Regions from separate parts of the Homo sapiens genome. Here region 1 is linked to region 2. The links are contacts of gene promoters, found by promoter capture Hi-C in human tissues and cell types (Jung and others, 2019). All regions are on one chromosome and are shown on one strand. The core of a region is centred on a gene start or on the middle of the fragment in contact, and the rest is flanking DNA. Distances in the headings are between cores, read along the strand shown. Region 1 overlaps FCGRT (Fc gamma receptor and transporter). Region 2 holds the start of MED25 (mediator complex subunit 25).

The links. Contacts are between HindIII fragments. The study calls those that stand out against the background at their distance.
Region 1: a contact is called between a fragment that was not itself captured here and the fragment with the promoter of MED25 in region 2, in 1 of the 25 tissues and cell types used here (lymphoblastoid cells).

What each region holds. Positions count from the first base shown.
Region 1 is chr19:49,513,948-49,520,160 of GRCh38, reverse strand. It overlaps FCGRT (Fc gamma receptor and transporter), which reads right to left. Exons shown (of 7, transcript NM_001136019.3): 3 at 6,028-6,213; 4 at 5,675-5,950. Among named protein-coding and RNA genes, the nearest start is that of FCGRT, 4.4 kb to the right of the region's middle. RefSeq lists an enhancer at 5,277-5,990. The HindIII fragment of the contact is 5,709 bases long and covers 1,461-6,213 here.
Region 2 is chr19:49,814,126-49,820,204 of GRCh38, reverse strand. MED25 (mediator complex subunit 25) reads right to left here and starts at 1,916. Exons shown (of 18, transcript NM_030973.4): 1 at 1,730-1,916; 2 at 1,589-1,634; 3 at 909-1,033. The coding sequence starts at 1,863. RefSeq lists silencers at 1,708-1,867, 1,794-1,960 and an enhancer at 1,998-2,357. The HindIII fragment of the contact is 7,641 bases long and covers 1-5,827 here.

The DNA of each region.
Region 1 (6,213 bases), core at 3,066-5,565, 300 kb after region 2:
AGACGCCCTCTCAAAAAAAAAAAAAAAAAAGCCCGGGCGCGGTGGCTCACGCCTGTAATCCCAGCACTTTGGGAGGCCGAGGCAAGTGGATCACAAGGTCAGGAGTTCAAGACCAGCCTGCCCAACATAGTGAAACCCCATCTCTCCAAAAAAAATACAAAAATTAGCCAGGCATGGTGGCACGCACCTGTAATCCCAGCTACTCAGGAGGCTGAGGCAGCAGAATCGCTTGAACCTGGGAGGCGGAGGTTGCAGTGAGCCAAGATCGCAACACTGCACTCCAGCCTGGGCGACAGAGCAAGACTCCATCTCAAAAAAAAAAAAAAAAAAAAAAGATTAAGGCAATGGCCATTGCTATCCGCTAAAACCATCAGGAGAAAACCTGACAAAGAACTTCATAACAACACCCGAATCCAGTGGTCCACAGAACAGCACAGAAGCAAGCAGATGTTTGCAGCCTATGCACACAGACATACGCACCAACTACCCAGAAAGTTTTCTTGCCATAAAAATTGAACCAGAATCTGACCAAGCTTCTAGATGGAGCTGCTCCTTTAAAGAAGAGAAGGAGGACTATTTCCAGCAACATCACAGGATGCAAAGGGCAAAATCCAGTCTAGGAGAAACTCAATAGGACATAAACTGACTTTCTTCAAACCACAATTACAGGGGGAAAAAAAACAAAAAGAAAATGGGAAACCTGTAAATCAAAAGACACTCAAGATCACAAGTAACTCAAATTACCTGAAAATGAATCACAGACCTAACTGTAAAATGCAAAACTTTAAAACTCTTAAAATACACAGGAGAAGATCTAGCTGACTTTGGGTTTGGTGATTACTTCTGAGATTAAACACCAAAAGCATAATCCACGATAGAAAAAAAAAAAAGAATAAACTGGATTTCATCAAAGTTAAAAACTTTTGCTTTGTGAAAGGCACAGTTAAAACAATGAAAAGACAACCTAGAGAGTGGAAGAAATATTTGCAAAACACCTATCTGGTAAAAAATTGGAATCCGGCCGGGCGCGGTGGCTCAAGCCTGTAATCCCAGTACTTTGGGAGGCTGAGGCAGGCGGATCAGGAGGTCAGGAGATCGAGACCATCCTGCCTAACACAGTGAAACTCTGTCTCTACTAAAAATACAAAAAATTAGCCGGGCGTGGTGGTGGGCGCCTGTAGTCCCAGCCACTCGGGAGGCTGAGGCAGGAGAATTGGTGCAACTTGGGAGGTGGAGGTTGCAATGAGCTGAGATCGCGCCACTGCACCCCAGCCTGGGTGACAGAGCGAGACTCCGTCTCCAAAAAAAAGAAAAAAACAAAAATACGGCCGAGCGCGGTGGCTCACGCCTGTAATCCCAGCACTTTGGGAGGCCGAGGTGGGTGGATCACCTGGGGTCGGGAGTTCGAAACCAGCCTGGCCAACATGGTGAAACTCTGTCTCTACTAAAGATACAAAAAATTAGCAGGGCGTGGTGGCTTGCGCCTGTAATCCCAGCTACTTGGGACGCTGAGGCAGGAGAATTGCTTGAACCCGGGAGGCAGAAGTTGCAGTGAGCCGAGTTCGTGCCTCTGCACTCCAGTCTGGGCGACAGAGTAAGACTTTGTCTCAAAAAACAAACAAACAAAAATAGCTAGGCCTGATGGCGTGCACCTGTGGTCCTACCTACTGGGGAGGCTGAAGTGGGAGAATTACTTGAGCCCAGGAAGTTCAGACTGCAGTGAGCTATGATTGCACCACTGGACTCCAGTCTGGTGACAGAGCAAGACCCTGTCTCAAAAAGGAAAAAAAAAAAAAAAAAGAAAGAAAGAAAAATTCAACAATCAGAAAAAGACACTGAAAAGACAACAAAATGTGTGGACCTTGCTGGATGCTGATTCAAACTTTAAAAAACATTTACAGTCAGGAATATGGGAACAAAAACTGGACATCTGATGCCATTAAAGAGTTAATTGGTTGTAGGTGTGATGATGGTTTTGGTATTAATTTTTTTTAAATGCCCTTACCTAGTAGAGTTACATACTAAAGGACTTATCAACAAAACAGTCTGGCTGGGCACGGTGACTCCCGCACTTTGGGAGGCTGAGGAGGGCAGATCACTTGAGGTGGAGGGTTCGAGACCAGCCTGGCCAACATAGTGAAATCCCGTCTCTACTAAAAATACAAAAATTGGCCAGGCGCGGTGGCTTATGCCTGTAATCCCAGCACTTTGGGAGGCCAAGGTGGGTGGATCACGAGGTCAGGAGTTCAAGACCAGCCTGGCCAATATGGTGAAACCTCATCTCTACTAAAAATACAAAAATTGGCTGGGCGAGGTGGCGGGCACCTGTAATCCCAGCTACTCAGGAGGCTGAGGCAGGAGAATTGTTTGAACCTGGGAGGCGAAGCTTGCAGTGAGCCGAGACTGAGCCACTACACTCCCGCATGACAGAGTGAGACTCCATCTCAAAATACAAACAAACAAAGAAAAAAACACTGTGATGTCTGAGATTTACCAAAGCTTGATGTGAAGTGGGGTGGGGAAGTGAGTGAGGATGTGCGTGAAATTCAAAAAACCATGGGTTGATAATTATTAAGTCTCAGTGATGGGATGCTCGCTTCCTTCCTTCCTTCCTTCCTTTCCTTCCTCTTTCTCTCTCCCTCTCCTCTCTCTTTCTTTCCTTCTTTCTTTGAGACAGAGTCTTGCTTTGTTGCCCAGGCTGGAGTGCAGTGGCTTGATCTCGGCTCACTGCAACCTCTGCTTCCCGGGATCAAGTGATTCTCCTGCCTCAGCCTCCCGAATAGCTGGAATTACAAGCACCCACCACCGCACCCGGCTAATTTTTGTATGTTTAGTAGAGATGGGGTTTCACTCTGTTGGCCAGGCTTATCTCAAACTCCTGACCTTAAGTGATCTGCCCACCTCGGCCTCCCAAAGTGTTGGAATTACAGGCGTGAGCCACTGCACCTGGCCACCATATTTTTTTTCTTTTTGAGACAGGGTCTGGCTCTGTCATCTGGGCTGGAGTGCAGAGTTGCAATCAGTTCACTACAGCCTCAAACTCCTGAGCTCAAGCGATCCTCCTGCCATAGCCTCCCCAGTGGCTGGGACTAGAGGCACATACCACCATGCCAGGCTAATTTTTTGAGTTTTTAGTAGAGATGCGGTCTTACTATGTTGCCCAGGCTGGTCTTGAACTCCTGGGATCAAGCAATCCACCTGCCTCGGCCTCCCAAAGTTCTGGGATTATAGGCGTGAGCCACCGTGTCTGGTCCGTTTTATACTATTGTTTCTACTTAAGTGTGGTTTGAAACTTTCCCTCCTTAAGCCAGGAGTGGTGGCTCATGCCTGTAATCCCAGCACTTTGGGAGGCCAAGGTAGGCAGATCACGAGATCAGGAGTTCGAGACCAGCCTGGCCAGCATGGTGAAGCCCCCGTCTCTACTAAAAATACAAAAATTAGCCAGGCATGGTGGTGTGTGCCTGTAATCCCAGCTACTCGGGAGGCTGAGGTAGGAGAATTGCTTGAACCTGGGAGGCGGAGGTTGCAGTGAGCCAAGATTGCGCCACAGTACTGCAGTCTGGGCGACAGTGCAAGAGTCTGTCTCAAAAACAACAACAACAACAACAAAGGCCAGGAGCAGTGGCTCACGTCTGTAATTCCAGCACTTTGGGAGGCCGAGGCAGGCAGATCACGAGGTCAAAAGATCGAGACCATCCCGGCCAACATGGTAAAACCCTGTCTTTACTAAAAAAAAAAAAACAAACAAAAATTAGCCAGGCGTGGTGGTGCACGCCTGTAGTCCCAGCTACTCGGGAGGCTGAGGCAGGAGAATCACTTGAACCTGGGAGGCGGAGGTTGCAGTGAGCCGAGATCGCGCCATTGCACTCCAGCCTGGGCGACAAGAGCGAAACTCTGTCTCAAAAAAAGAAAGAAATTTTCCCTACTTAGGAAAGAAAGAAGACAATTAAAGAAAAACTACCTGGTTGAGTCTCAACTTCTCCTTTGTGGCACTTGGAATGAATATCTGTGCACATCCCCAGCTGGTATCTATCTTTGTCCAGCAGCCTGGGAGCCACAGAGGGTGAATGTGTGTCACTTCCCTCTTTGCTCAAGGCCCAGAGCAGCGCCTGGCAGTGCAAATGCTCTTGGCCAACAGTTGAATGAGTGGGGATCTGGGGGCCTCCGGGGAGGAAACAGTGAACTCTGCCCTACAGAGCTGAGGAAAGGCTTCTCAGAGGAAGTGATATCCAGCCCTGACCTTGAAGAATAAGGAGGGCTGGAGTATATGCAGAGAGGGGGAAGGGTGGAACAGAGAGGTGCCAGGGGAAACTGGATGAGCAAATGCCCAGAGGGAGGAGATTGCTTATGTTGGGTGGCTGGAGCGTAGACTCTGATGGCTGCGTAGAGACAAGTGCTGCTGCGTGGGTCTGATGAGGACATTAAGGCAAGGAAGGCCAAGCACAGTGGCTCACACCTGTCATCCCAGCACCCTGGGAGGCCAAAGTGAGAGAATCACTTGAGGCCAGGAGTTTGAGTCTGGCCTGGGCAGCATAGTGAGATGCCACCTCTACAACAAATTTTAAAAATTAGCCAGGTATGGCCAGACGCGGTAGCTCACTCCTGTAATCCCAGCACTTTGGGAGGCGGAGGTGGGTGGATCACTTGAGGTCAAGAGTTTGAGACCAGCCTAGCTACCATGACGAAACCCCATCTCTACTAAAAGTATAAAAATTAGCCAGACATGGTGGATGTGCCTATAGTGCCAGCTACTCATGAGGCTGAAGCAGCGGAATCCCTTAAACCCAGGAGGCGGAGGTTGCAGCGAGCTGAGATCACCCTGCTTCACACTAGCCTGGGCAACAGAGATTGTGCGGAAAAAAAAAAATTAGCCAGTTATGGTGGTATGCACCTGTAATCTCAGCTACTCAGGAGACCAAAGCAGGAGAATCGCTGGAGCCTAGGAGTTCAAGACCAGCCTGGGCAACATAGTGAGACACCGTGTCTACAAAATATAAAGTTAGCCAGGTGTGATGATGCTGGGCTGTGGTCCCAGCTACTTGGTTGGCTGAGGTGGGAGGACTGCTTGAGCCTGGGAGGTTCAGGCTGCAGTGAGCCGAGATGGTGCCACCACATTCCAGCCTGGGGTGACAGAGCGAGAATCTGTCTCAAAAAAAAAAAAAAGGGGGGAGCCAGGAGCAGTAGCTCATGCCTGTAATCCCAGCACTTTGGGAGGCTGAGGTGGGCGGATCACCTGAGGTCAGGGGTTTGAGACCAGCCTGACCAACATGAAGAAACCCCGTCTCTACTAAAAATACAAAATTAGCCGGGCATGGTGGTGCATGCCTGTAATCCCAGCCACTCGGGAGGCTGAGGCAGGAGATCACTTGAACCCGGGAGGCGGAGGTTGTGGTGAGCCGAGATCGCGCCATTACACTCCAGCCTGGGCAACAAGAGCGAAACTCCGTCTCACAAAAAAAAAAAAAAAAAGAAGGCAAGGAAGGAAGCCAGGAGTTTGTCCTGGGGGGCGCTGGGGAGCCATGGGAGGGCTGAGTGTAGAAGGACCCCTGAGGAATGGGGGGGCAGAGCGTGGGCTGCAGTGGGAGGCTGATGGAGGGTCCTGGCAGGGGAACTGAGGCAGGTGGGCATGACGGGAGAGAGGACAGAACAGCCTGCGGCTGCAGATCCGGCTCACCCTTCCACTCCAGGTTTCCGCGGCCCCTCTCCAGGTGCTCCCGCAGGCGGTGCGGGCAGGAGAATAGCAGGAAGGTGAGCTCCTTGTTGGCCGCCTTGTCCTGCTGCTGCCACCGCTGACTGATAGCCAGGGCCTCGGGCCAGTCCCCACCCCAGGTGCCCTGCTTGAGGTCGAAATTCATGAACTCCTCGCCGTTCAGGGCGAACTTGGCGGTGGGCACCGAGGTGTTGTCAGGGCCCAGTTCACAGCCCAGCAGGCCCTGCAGAGTGTAGGGACCTGGGGCGCCCAAACACAGGTAAGCGGGGCCCCGGAGCATGGACCCGGCCCCTTGCCCCTCCAGACCGGAATCTCACCTTTTCCCCCCAAAGCTTTGAAAGCTTCCAGAAAGAGCTTCTCCTTGATCCTCAGATCTGTGGTCTCTTTCTCCCAATACCAGGACACCTGGTTTTCCCAGACCCAAGCTCCACAGGGCTCCGCCTCGCCCCGCAGGCTATTGTAGCTCAGGTACTGCTGCGGGCCCAGCCAGCCGGACACCCAGA
Region 2 (6,079 bases), core at 667-3,166:
CTTGGGCCTGAGTGCACTCAATGAAAGATTCTCCTGCTTTAACCCGAGGGCTCTCTCCTGTCGTCCTGAATCCCGCAACAGTGGCTCACCCCTATAATCCCAGCACTTTGGGAGGCTGAGGCAGGCAGATCACATGAGGTCAGGAGTTTGAGACCAGCCTGGCCAACACAGTGAAACTGTCTCTACTAAAAATACAAAAAAAAAAAAAAAAATTAGCTGGGCATAGTGGCGTGTGCCTGTAATCCCAGCTACTTGGGAGGCTGAGGCAGAAGAATCGCTTCAACCCAGGAGGTACAGGTTGCAGTGAGCCACGACTGTGCCACTGCACTACAAGCCTGGGAGACAGAGCAAGACACTGTTTCAAAAAAAAAAAAAAAAATTCTGACCCAAGCCACAGAGGGATCTATCCTGGCTCTGACCCATCCCCCTGCACTGAGGCTACAATGTACCCATCTGGAAAAGGAGGACAGGGGTAGACGGAAAAAGAGAGGACAGAAAGGGGACAATCACACAGGGAGTACAAGGTGGCTGCTGGAGCTCAGCCAGGCCTCCCTGAATGGGAAGGTTTTTCCTACTTCTAAACTGATGGCAACATTGCTGAGCACACAGAAGCCACCACAAAAGTGACTTCTGACAAAAACACAATCACCCTCAAAGTCCTTTCAATCCCTTAATGTATGAGATGTTTCCTGCAGCTCAAACCCAAGCCATCGCTCATTCACGGCCCCTCGCAGGGACCCCAACCACCCCAAGCCATTACTTATTCACAGCCCCTCACGGGGACACCAACCACCCCAAGCCATCACTTATTCACAGCCTCTCACGGGGACACCAACCACCCCAAGCCATCACTCATTCACGGCCCCTCACAGGGACCAGCAACCCACCCCAAGTGGGGGAAAGCTCACTTAATGCCATCGAGCCAGGTGACAAACTCATAGGCGCTGCTGGTGGGAGCGTGACATTGTACGTAGGACTCGGGAGCGCAGTCCACTGTGTTGAACACCACGAGGCTGTACTGGGTCCCCCCATACTGGGAGGGGAGGACAGAAAACTTTTAATCTGGGACCTCAATTCCCTTTTCCCTTAGAGAAGGAATCAGGGCTCCCAGCTTCCCGTTCCTCCAGAACCAGGAACTCCTCAGCTTCCTCCTTCCTCAGACCCAGCAATCTCGGCCCCAGCCCCTTCTCCCTCAGACCCAGGAATCCAGGCCCCCGGCCCCTCCTCCCTCAGACCCAGGAGCCCAGGCCCCAGCACCTCCTCCCTCAGACCCAGGAATCCAGGCCTCAGCTCCTCCTTTCTCAGACCCAGCAGTCCAGACGCCCAGCCCTTCCTCCCTCAGACCCAGGGATCTGGGCCCCTAGCTCCCTCCTCCCTCGGACCCAGGAATCCGGGCCCCAGCGCCTCCACCCTCAGACCCAGGAGTCCAGGCCCCCAGGCCCTCCTCCCTCAGAACAAGGAGTCCAGACCCCCAGCCCCTCCTCCCTCAAACTCAGGAGTCCAGGCCCAGCCCTTTCTCCCTCCCTCAGACCCAGGAGTCCAGGCCCCCGGCCCCTCCTCCCTCAGGCCCAGGAGTCCCTAGACTCACGTCTCCCCCGAAGTCCGTCTCAGCAGGAGGACCACCATTAAAATACCTGTGAGGGTAGGAAGTGAAAGGTCGGAGTCAGGCAAGAAACTGTGCGAAACTGAAGTGGGAGGGCGGGGTTAGAGTCGCGGAAACAGCACTCACTCGATGGCCGGGAGCAGGTAGTGCTTGCGGAGCCCCTCGAAGTAGGGTCCCAGGTTGGCCGTACCCTCAATCACAAACACCACGTCGGCCACCACGCTCCCGGCGCGGGCCGGGCCCTCGGACCCGGGGACCATACCCCGTGCGGTACCCGCCACCACCACTGCAGCCGCAGCCGACGCCGCGGAATGAGCAGAAATGCGCCTGCGCCGCGCGCGCGCTCGCGTCGGGCGGTTTAGGGCTGCTGGGAATGCTGCCATGTTTGTGCGGGGCACGCGCTGAGGCTTCGTTCTAGCTCCATCCTCCTTCGCCCCCACCGCGTGGAAGACTCAGAAAGGGCATAGTTAGCCCTTCTAGGGGCCTGATGGGTTAGACGGAATTATTGTCAAAAGCTAAATAAATTGAAAGCGGCTCAGTCAGCCGCCATCTTTGAGCGGGGCGTCCAGGTCCGCCTCTTGTCTCAAAGGGAGGGGCAGGAGACCTGGTTGCTATGCAACGCGTACGCTGCCCTTGTTTTCGTTTTTGTGTTTTGTTTTTTGTTTGTTTGTTTTTTCGAAACGGGAGTCTCGCCCTGTCGCCCAGGCTGGAGTGCAGTGGCGCGATCTCGGCTCACTACAACCTCCGCTTCCCGGGTTCAAGCGATTCTCCTGCCTCAGCCTCCCGAGTAGCTGGGATTACAGGTGCCCGCAACCACGCCCCGCTAATTTTTGTATTTTTAGTAGAGAAAGAGTTTCACCCTGTGGGCCAGGCTGTTCTCGAACTCCTGACCTCAAGTGATTCGCCCGCCTTGGCTTCCCAAAGTGCTGAGATTACAGGCGTGAGCCACCGCGCCGGGCCCGCTGCCCTTGTTTTGTAACCGTTAGATTAAGTTTCTGGTTCTGTTCTTTCGGGCGTGGGGACTAGGGGAGGGACGCGAGAAGGATCCAATCACATCGGCGGAAACGAGGTTACTAGGCGACGCTTTAAGGTCGTCCTCAACTTGGAAGGGAGGGCAGTTGTTTTCCCCCCCGAAAAGAAGCCGAACACCAAACCAAGTGCGGGTTGCTAAGCAACACCTGAGCGTTGTTTTCTGGGAGAGGAGCCAGAAACTGGCTTAGAACGTAAATACATTCCAGGTGGATTAAAAATGTAAGTGCAACAAATGAAACCCGAAAACTATCTGAAGGGAAAAAATCTTAATGACTGCCATGGAGTTTCTTAGCACTACAGCAAAGTTAGAAAACGTAGTCTTCATTAATTTTTCCCAAAAGACTGTATAAACCAAGTTGAAAAATATACGGCCAACTGGGAAAATCTTTCTAGCGTGTTTGTTGACAGAAATGTACTACGCAAATAAATCTTACTGATGAATAACAATATAGAAAAATAGAAACACTTCATTACTATTATCTTTTAATTTTAATTTTTATTTTTTGAGGCAGGGTCTCTTTCTGTTGTGCAGGTTGAAGTGCAGTGGCCCAATCTTGGCTCACGGCAGCCTCTACTCGCACTGGAGCCACTCTTCAGCCTGTGGAGCAGCTGGGACCACAGCCGCGCACTACCACTTCCAGCTAATTTTTAAATTTTTTGTAGAGATGGGGTCTCACTGTGTTGCTCTGGCGTGTCTCAAACTCCTCGGCTAAAGCGATCCCAGGTGTTAGCCATCGTGCCCTGCCACTTTATATTTGTTTTAATAGAAAGAAACCTGACCAGGGCCGGACGCCGTGGCTCACGCTTGTAATCCCAGCACTTTGGGAGGCCAAGGCGGGCAGATCACCCGAGGTAAGGGGTTCAAGACCAGCCTGGCCAACATGGTGAAACTCCTTCTAACTACTAAAAATAAAAAAATTAGCCGTCCTGGTGGGCGTCTGTAATCCCAGCTACTTGGGAGGCTGAGTCAGGAGATTCTCCTGAACCCGGGAGGCGGAGGTTGCAGTCAACTGAGATTGTGCCACTGCATTCCAGCCTGGGCGGCAGAGTTAGACTCCGTCTCAAAAAAAATAAAAATAAATAAATAAAAAGAAACCTGACTAGTTTCACACAAACACACACACAAAATTTTGAATGGCCAGTAAATATTTTAAAACATAATCTTCGGCCGGGCGAGATGGCTCATGCCTGTAATTCCAGCACTTTGGGAGGTAGAGGCGGGCGCATCACGAGGTCAGTATCACTGGGCGTCGTGGTGCCCACCTGTAATCCCAGCAACTCGAGAGGCTGAGGCAAGGAGAATCGCTTGAACCCGGGAGGCAGAGGTTGCAGTGAGCCGAGATCACGCCACTGCACTCCAGCCTGGGCGACAGAGCGAGACTGTCTCAAAAAAAAAACAAAAAAAACAAAAAAAACAGGCCGGGCGCAGTGGCTCATGCTTGCAATCCCAGCACTTTGGGAGGCCAAGGCGGGCAGATCACGAGGTCAGGAGATCGAGACCATCCTTGCTAACACGGTGAAACCCCGTCTCTACTGAAAATCCAAAAAAAAAAAAAAAAAAATTAGCGGGGCGTGGTGGCGGGCGCCTGTAGTCCCAGCTACTCCGGAGGCTGAGGCAGGAGAATGGCGTGAACCCGGAAGGCGGAGCTTGCAGTGAACAGAGATCGCGCCACTGCACTCCAGCCTGGGGGACGGAGCGAGGCGCTGTCTCAAAAAAAAAAAAGTAATAATAATAATAATAATCACCAATTGAAAAGTACTTACAGAAAGCCTAATGATAAAGGTTTTTACCTTTATCATTTAAAATTATTTTTTATTGGGTTTCTATTTTTCTTTTATCTTTTATTTTTATTTTTATTTTTTTTTATTTTATTATTTTTTTTTTGACAAAATCTCGCTCTGTCGCCCAGACTGGAGTGCAGTGGCGCAGTGTCGGCTCGCTGCAGCCTCTGCCTCCCTGGTTCCACCGATTCTCCTGCCTCTGCCTCCCCAGTAGCTGGGACTACAGGTGTGTGCCACCTCGCAGGCAAATTTTTGTATTTTTGTTAGAGACAGGGTTTTACCATGTTGGCCAGGCTGGTCTCAAACTCCTGACCTCAGGTGATCCACCCGTTTTGGCCTCCTAGAGTGCCCGGATTATAGGCAGTGAGCCTGCGGAAGCCCTTTTTTTTTTGAGACAGTCTCATTTGCTGAAGCTTTTTTTTTTTTTTTTTTTTTGAGATGGAGTTTTGTTCTTGTTGCCCAGGCTGCAGTGCAATGGCACAGTCTCGGCTCACGGCAGCCTCCACCTCCTGGGTTCAAGCGATTATCCTGCCTCAGCCTCCCGAGTAGCTGAGTTTACAGGCATGCGCCACCACGCCCAGCTAATTTTGTATTTTTAGTAGAGCCGGGGTTTCTCCATGTTGGTCAGGCTGGTCTCGAACTCCAGACCTCAGGTGACCCGCCCACCTTGGCCTCCCAAAGTGCTGGGATTACAGGCGTAAGCCGCCGCGCCTGGCCTGCTGAAGCCTTCAAATCCATACAATCATATGATTTTACTCCTGTGTGCTTGGCAGGCATCTTTCCAATTTTATGAACACTTTCTTACATTACTAGTATGCCATTGTTACCTGTAACAAAATTAACTTCTTAGTATCATCCAACAGTAAGTGTGTAATCAAACGTTCCAATTGTCTCAAAATGTGTTTTTACAGTTGGTTTATTTGTATCAGGATCCAAACAAAGACCACACACATATTTAGACATTATGTCTCAAGTTTCTTTTCATCTAGAGCAGCCCCCTCTTTTATGCCTGTGTAACTAACATTTTAATAAAGTTGTAAGGAAGATAAAAGTAATCCAGAGAAAGGAAAAAAAATATCAATAGGCAAGAAGGAAGATTAAAATGGTACCTAGGCCAGGCATGGTGGCTCCTGCCTGTAGTCCCAGCACTTTGAGAGGCTGAGGTGGGTGGATCATTTGAGCCAAAGAGTTTGAGACCAGCTTGGGCAACATGGCGACACCCTGTCTCCACAAAAACTACAAAAATTAGCTGGACGTGGTGGGGGCACACCTGTAATCCCAGCTACTCAGGAGGCTGAGGCAGGAGAATCGCTTGAATCCTGGAGGCGGAGGTTGCAGTTAGCCGAGATGGTTCCACTGCACTCCACCTTGGGCGACAGAACGAGACCCTGTCCCCTCTCCCAAAAAAAAAAAAAAGAGAAAAAGATGTACTTTAGGAAGTAGGAAAATTAAAAATTATGCTAGAAAGATGGGCTGATCTGCAAGAAGGAAGAGGAAGGGAAAAATGAATCATAAATACTTTTGTCATTACAAGTAAATGCTGCCTGTGTAAAATAATAAAAATATTCATAAGGGCATTTTAAAAAGTCAGTAAAATGCTGTCCCAGCACTAGTTGGCTAGTCTGGAGGAGTTCAACAACCTAATGTACATCAATACAGAAT